2 separate regions of the Homo sapiens genome follow, and region 1 is linked to region 2. The links are contacts of gene promoters, found by promoter capture Hi-C in blood cells and fetal thymus (Javierre and others, 2016). All regions are on one chromosome and are shown on one strand. Each heading gives the region's core, a stretch centred on a gene start or on the middle of the fragment in contact. The rest is flanking DNA. Distances are from core to core; before and after follow the strand shown.

The links. Contacts are between HindIII fragments. The CHiCAGO score rates a contact against its expected background, and 5 or more counts as called.
Region 1: a contact is called between a fragment that was not itself captured here and the fragment with the promoter of IKBKE in region 2, in 8 of 17 cell types (activated CD4 T cells, naive B cells, total B cells and 5 more). The highest score is 11.8, in activated CD4 T cells.

The regions. Positions count from the first base shown.
Region 1 is chr1:206,981,102-206,984,345 of GRCh38, forward strand. No RefSeq gene overlaps it. Among named protein-coding and RNA genes, the nearest start is that of FCAMR, 12 kb to the left of the region's middle. The HindIII fragment of the contact is 173 bases long and covers 1,441-1,613 here.
Region 2 is chr1:206,468,933-206,472,155 of GRCh38, forward strand. IKBKE (inhibitor of nuclear factor kappa B kinase subunit epsilon) reads left to right here and starts at 1,544. Exons shown (of 22, transcript NM_014002.4): 1 at 1,544-1,766; 2 at 2,224-2,313. RefSeq lists enhancers at 454-1,091, 611-920. The HindIII fragment of the contact is 16,341 bases long and covers 1-3,223 here.

The DNA.
Region 1 (3,244 bases), core at 277-2,776, 510 kb after region 2:
CCTTTGGCCCACAGGCAGCAAGAAACTGAGGCTTTCAGTCTGGTCACCCACTAGGACCTGAATCCTACCAATCATCACGTGAACTTGGAAGTGGATTTTTCCCCAGTTGAGCTCTCAGATGCAAACCCAGACCTGGCTGACAACTTGACTGAAGGCTTGCAGAGGACCCAAAGCTGTGCCAGGACTGTTGACCAAAAGAAAGCAGGAGAGAAATGTGTGTTGTCCTAGGCTGCTGACTCTATGGTAATCTTGGTGTGCAGCAATAGATAAGTAATGCATGGGGTTCGGAAAGTGTGAGAGGGAAGCACATTGGTTTCCTAGGGCTGTCATAACTAAGCACTATAAACTGGGTGGCTTAAAACAGCAGAAATCTATTCTCACAGCTCTGGAGCTAGAAGTCTGAAATCAAGGTACTGGCAAGGCCATGGTTCCTCTGAAGCATCTAGGGGAGGATCCATCCTTGCCTCTTCCACCATCTGGTATCTCCAGGCATTCCTTGGCTTATGGCAACATCACTCCAGTCTCTGCCTCTGGCTTCACATGGCCATCTTCCCCGTGTGTCTCTGTCTTCTCCTTTTCTTATAAGGATATCATATGGGATTAAGGGCCTGCCGTACTCCATGTCACCTTATCTTAATTACATCTTCAATGATCCTATTTCCAAATAAGGTCATTCTGAGGGACTAGGGGTTAGGACTTCATCATATCTTTTTTGGCACATTTCAACCCATAACAAGAAAAAAAAAATAGAGAGAAGAGCTGACAATTGAAGAATCTTTCGGAAAACAAGCACCTTCTTGATGGGCCAGGTGAACATATCCATGCAGCCTGCACATTCAGCGCAAGGATGAGGGTCTTTGCAGGTGAGGATCTCAGAAACTGCAGGGAGCGGACCCTTCCCTTCTCTCCAGGAGCTGCTTGAAATTTGTGAACAAAAGCCTAACTTCACCAGCTGAGAGAATACCCATCCAGAGAATGGCTTTCCCCACAGCTGCCAAAAGGGTTGCGTGGCCTGCCTCATGGCAGGGGGTGGCCAGATGATCCTGTATTCTAAGTCCTTGCATTCTAAGGTACTCTCATTCCATAGTTTGGTGCTGTATTTGGAAGCCTGTCCTGGGTTAATGAATGGACCCTTTTCTCTGTCTCAGATACTGGAAGGGCCCAAAAGCTACAATACGTTTTCAACTATGGGCAGCTGCTGCCACCTTGTGCCAGAAAGACTCCATGGCTAGAGTGACCAGGGACCTCAGATCAGGACACTATGAAGGGGCACTTCTAATAATTGTTCTGGGGCAGCAGGTGTAAATCGGGATTGTCCCAGGGAAACATATGGTCACCCCTGGGGAATGCAAGGGAACAACAGGATTTGCAAGGATTTTCCCAAGAATAAATTTGAGTTTTCCAAAATGTTCTACTTTTCTACATTTACTCTCAGCATGAAGCTTCCTGTGTCACCTATGGTGGCCATCACACCTCATGCGAGGTTAACAATACGTGAAAGAGTTCTGAATTCCTCTGGCACAAAGAAGAATGAATTTCCAACTATGCCTACTAAGAGAAAAAAGTCTTTTTCTACATTGCTTTTGAACACAACGTACCCCAAACACATGTAAAGCTTTGTTCTGACTTTAAGGATGCATTTTAAATCAATAAAGGAACAAAAAGCCCAGAAAAGGCCTAACTCTCTCTCTCTCTTTGTGTGTGTGTGTGTGTTTGGTGCTTTCAAAATTGACATATTACTCAGATATGGAAAAATAAAAGTAAAATTTTTGTCTTATAATTGTTTAGTGTGGGTGCTAATTTCTGTTGGTAGCAGGGATGAGGTGATATTGCCAAGATATTTTAAATGTACCAATTAATAGAAAGTTAATCTCCATTGCTCAGATCTGTTTTAGGTAAAGCAGCTAATTCAAAGCTCAGACTCTAGACAGCTTGAAGGGATCTCTCCTACCCCTTCTCAAGATGGTGTCTGGGTGCAGTGGTATTGCTCAGATGTCCTTGATTCTCCCTACCCTCATTCTGAAATGCCCCTCATTCTTCTTGGTGATGAAGATGCCACTGGTTTGATCTGGTCCATGGGCATCATAGTGGCATCTGCCCCCCACTATGCATACACGCGGGTCCTTGCCATTGCCTCTGGTGACAAGAGCTCCATACTCTGAGCTTCCTTAGGAACTTGGGTCTTTTCTGCTCTCTCAGCTGTCATGCATCTCAGTGGGGTGCCGGAAAACTCTAGATTGCTTTCTCTCCAATATGCTGTTGTGTGTGGACCCTTGAAGTCTGCCCTCAGCATGTGCCTGTAATTGCTAGTTCCCCTTTCTTGGATCATGTTGGATGCAGCATCCCCTGCAGTGGAGGGTTTCTCCACAAAGTCTATGGTTTCCCCAAGCTCTGCCCAGTCTGTGAAGGACAGCAGCTCCTGAAGTTCTTAGACTGTCCCAAATTTATCTTGGGGGTGGTTTTATCCAAGATGCACCCTCCTGCCCTATAACACCTCTTGTTAATGTTCCATCCTGGGGTGAGAAAGGGAGCCAGAACATTTCAGGTCACCCTTTGCCCCTTTTTTCCCCCTCACCCACCCAGATCCTAATCCCAGCATTAGAAGGAACTTCTTCCTTCCTCAATGGTGAGGGCTTCACTAACATCATATTTCATGTTCTTCTCTGATCAATGGTCAATAATCTGTTCTATGATTAGTTCTCTAGCTAGCTGAAAATCCTCTCACTTTTTTTTTCAACATTCTCAAGATAGCCTAGAAAATGAAATAGGAGCTCCCCTATATTTGATGGTTCTCCCCTCCCCATGAAGCTCTGGATGCCATCAGTTCAACATTTGGGGGTCACAGGTTAATCAGAGCCTAGGATTTACCAGGTTAATATCTGAAAACATATTATTATTTTACAGTGAGAATTGCGTATTTGATAAATGTCATCAGATAGTATTAAAGGAAAAATAGTCTTAGCTAGCAATTTAGAAAATAAATTGCTCTGATTAGTTGCTAAAAAAATTCCAGATGGATTAAACAATTGAAGAAAAACCAAATTATTTTTAAAAACTAGCAGAAAATGGAAGTAAATATGTATCCTATCTCTAAAGGAGTAATTTTCTAAGTTTTAAAATCATATAAGAAAGAACATAGGAAAAGAGAAATTAAAATACTTTTTAAAAATTTGCCCCTCAACAATATATAAAAAGGAAAACAAAAGACTTGGAAAATATTTCCAGCACATATGAGTCAAGGAAT
Region 2 (3,223 bases), core at 294-2,793:
CTCCCATGTGCCAGGCAGGCAGAAACCTGGGAAGACTAGGCTGGGTGCAGTGGCTCACGCCTGTAATCCCGGCACTTTGGGAGACTGAGGCAGGTGGATCAGGAGGTTGGGAGATCTAGACCAACCTGCTCAATCCACCTCACCAACCACACAGTGAAACCCCATCTCTACTAAAAATACAAAAAATTAGCCACTGGCTCACGCCTGTAATCCCGGCACTTTGGGAGGCTGAGGCAGGTGGATCAGGAGGTTGGGAGATCAAGTCCAACCTGTTCAATCCACCTCACCAACCACACAGTGAAACCCCATCTCTACTAAAAATACAAAAAGTTAGCCGGGCATGGTGGTGCATGCCTGTAGTCCCAGATACTTGGGAGGCTGAGGCAGAAGAATCACTTGAACCCAGGAGGTGGAGGTTGCAGTGAGCTAACATCATGCCACTGCACTCCAGCCTGGGTGACAGAGTGAGACTCCATCTCAAAAAAAAAAAGCAAGCTGGGAAGACTGGGTGGAACATGAGGATCTCAGGCACTCAGGCACATTCCTCCTGGTCCTGATGTGAGAAGTTGCAGCAACTCCTCCAGCTGGAGGTGTTATGGGGAGTTCTCTTTATCTGAGCACTAGGCAGTTCTCAGCTCTGCTCCTGTTCTAGTGTCACTGTGGGAGGGGTGGGGCTGGCGGAGGAAACCACCAGGTGTGGCCATGGGAAAGTCCCTCCAACATTCTATAGAAACATGGAATTTCCTGGTTTTAACCATTTCATATCCAACTGCCATCTCTGAGCTGACCAGAGCAGGACAGACCCCTCCAGCCTCCTAGGACATTTGATGTGGGGCATCGAGTCCTGGCTGGGAAGTTGGCACCTGGGTGCCAGCCCCAGCAGTCTCTGAAGAGCATGGGTAAATTACTGAAGTGTGTGGGCCTCCATGCCTTCAATGCCTTTCTGTAAAATGCTTTCCAAGCTCCCAAACAATTCCAAATATATCCATGTCATCCAATCAACCCACAGAGTAGCTGTTACTCTGCGGGTGAGTGAGCTGGCTGGGAGGGGCTGCATGCTGTGTGCTCAGGTCACACTGGAAGGCATCAGCTGGGTCCCCGCGCTTGCTCTCGGACCTCTGCAGGCCTCCTGGGAAGGTGACTCAGATCCAACTTCTAGGACTGGATCGGCATAGCTCCCACACTTCCTTGGGGTTCCTGGGTGTGGGAGCATGGACTTCCCAGGCAGCTTTCCACTTAGTTAACTTGCCCAACCTGCTCTGTTGACTCTGGGAAGAGCCCTGAACTTCCCTGCTCCAGTGAACTGTGGGAGATGCCAAAACAGCACCCAGCTGCCCATCAAGATTACCAGAAGGGCCCCAGTTCCTGGCTTCTCTGTGGCTCACACTCTGGTCCTATTGCCTACCCTTGGGAACTCAGAGCATCCTCTTTCTCTTTTCTGCTGAGCTGGTGGCTGCACCGAGTTGCCTCTGTCTCTTTAAGAGAGAAAGAGAGAGCGAGAGACGGAAATCAGGAAGTGCGAGAGAGCTGAGAGCCAGGACTCAGTGCTGAGCTTGGTGTCCCACCGCCACAAGGAGGCAGGGAAGAAACCCACTAGTCCCAGCTCCTGGGGTGGCACAGACATTGCAACTGGCCCTGCCTGTGGGTCCTAGGGGCCCTTGGCTACCAGGAGGCTAAGAACACTGCTCATGAATGACAGTGAGCCCTGAAAGCTCTGGGGGTGTCACCCAGTCCCACAAGCCTGCATCCCCTGCAGTGGAGATGGGGTGAGTGTGCAGCGTGCGGAGGGGGGTGGGGGTGGAATGAGGGGCCAGACAAGGGGCAGCTGCAGGGCAGCTCAGCCGGGTGCAGGGGTGTGGGCTTGTTGGCAGCGGTGCTCTCACATAGAGCGTTGTGTGTGGCATGGAGGTGAGCCACCACGGGCCAACCACAAGCCCTCCCTGGGCTCTGCTTACCAACACCCAAAGCCAGCGATCAGCACCCAGCGCCTGCCCTCACCTTTCCCGGGGTCTTTCTCCCTGGCCGGAGTCTCAGGAGTAGGAGACGCTGGGAAAGGCTCCCTGAACAGTTTGGGAATAGAGCTGGAAACCCCCAGCCCAGCCCTGTGGGGGAAGGTGACAAACAGGAAAGGGTTAAAGGGCTAGGGCCGGCGGCCTTTGATGGAGGCTGAGAAGCAACTGCACTGAGGGGCGCCTCTCATCCGCCCTCCTCTTTCCGGTGTAGCTCAGCTCCTGGACGTGCCACAGACAGAAAGCATAACATACACTCGCCAGGAAGAGCCTTTGCCTGACTCAGGGCAGCTCAGAGTGTGGGGTAAGTGCACTTGGCCACAGCAGAGCCCTGAGGAGGGAGGGGAGGGGAGAGGTGGGTGGGTGGTGTCTCACATGCTTCACTGTCCACTGCTCATTCATCCAACCACTGGCTGAGGGCCACTGAGCCCTTCTTTGCACCAGGTGCTTGGGGTGGTGGGGGGAGGATCTGCAGAGCGTGCAGAGTTAAGCCAGATGTGCCACAACCAGAGCTCCCGGGCACAGAATCCAGGGGCACACCGCTTGTCTGGGGGTCTGCGCTTTGCACCTCACTGCCTATTATCCCAGAGTCCTGAGCTGTTCCTTGCCCCAGTATCAGAGCCCTTGGCCTTGATTTCAGCCTGCTGTGCTCCAACCCCAGCCCCAGCCCCCAGACCTGCTGGCTGCCTCCAGCCTCAGCGGGGAAAACCAGACCCACTCATTCATGCTGAGCTACTGTGTTGTCTTCAGGAAGCCTCTCAGTACCTCAGTTGCTTCTGTGTAATGTCCGCTCCTACCTGATCTGAAACTAGGAGTTGACCACCGATCTCTTCAAGGGGCCTCTGGCTCAATGAAATGACATTATCAAGGATTTGCATTTTTAAAAAAGATTACACAGAGAAAAAGTTCAGAGCGAAGGAACATAGGATTCCAGGCATGGCAACCCTCAGTTTGAGAACCTGTAAGATGTTAGAACACGAAGATGCCTTTTCTAGTCTAGCGTTATTTAAAAGTATTTAAGTGGCCAGGCATGGTGGCTCACACCTGTAATCCCAGCAATTTTTTGGGGAAGCCCATGTGGCCGGATTGCCTGAGCTCAGGAGTTCAAGACCAGCCTGGGCAACATGGCAAAAACCCATCTCTACTAAAAATACAAAAGACAGCCAGGTGTGGTGGTGCACACCTATGGTCCTAAGCTCCTCAGGAGGCTGAGT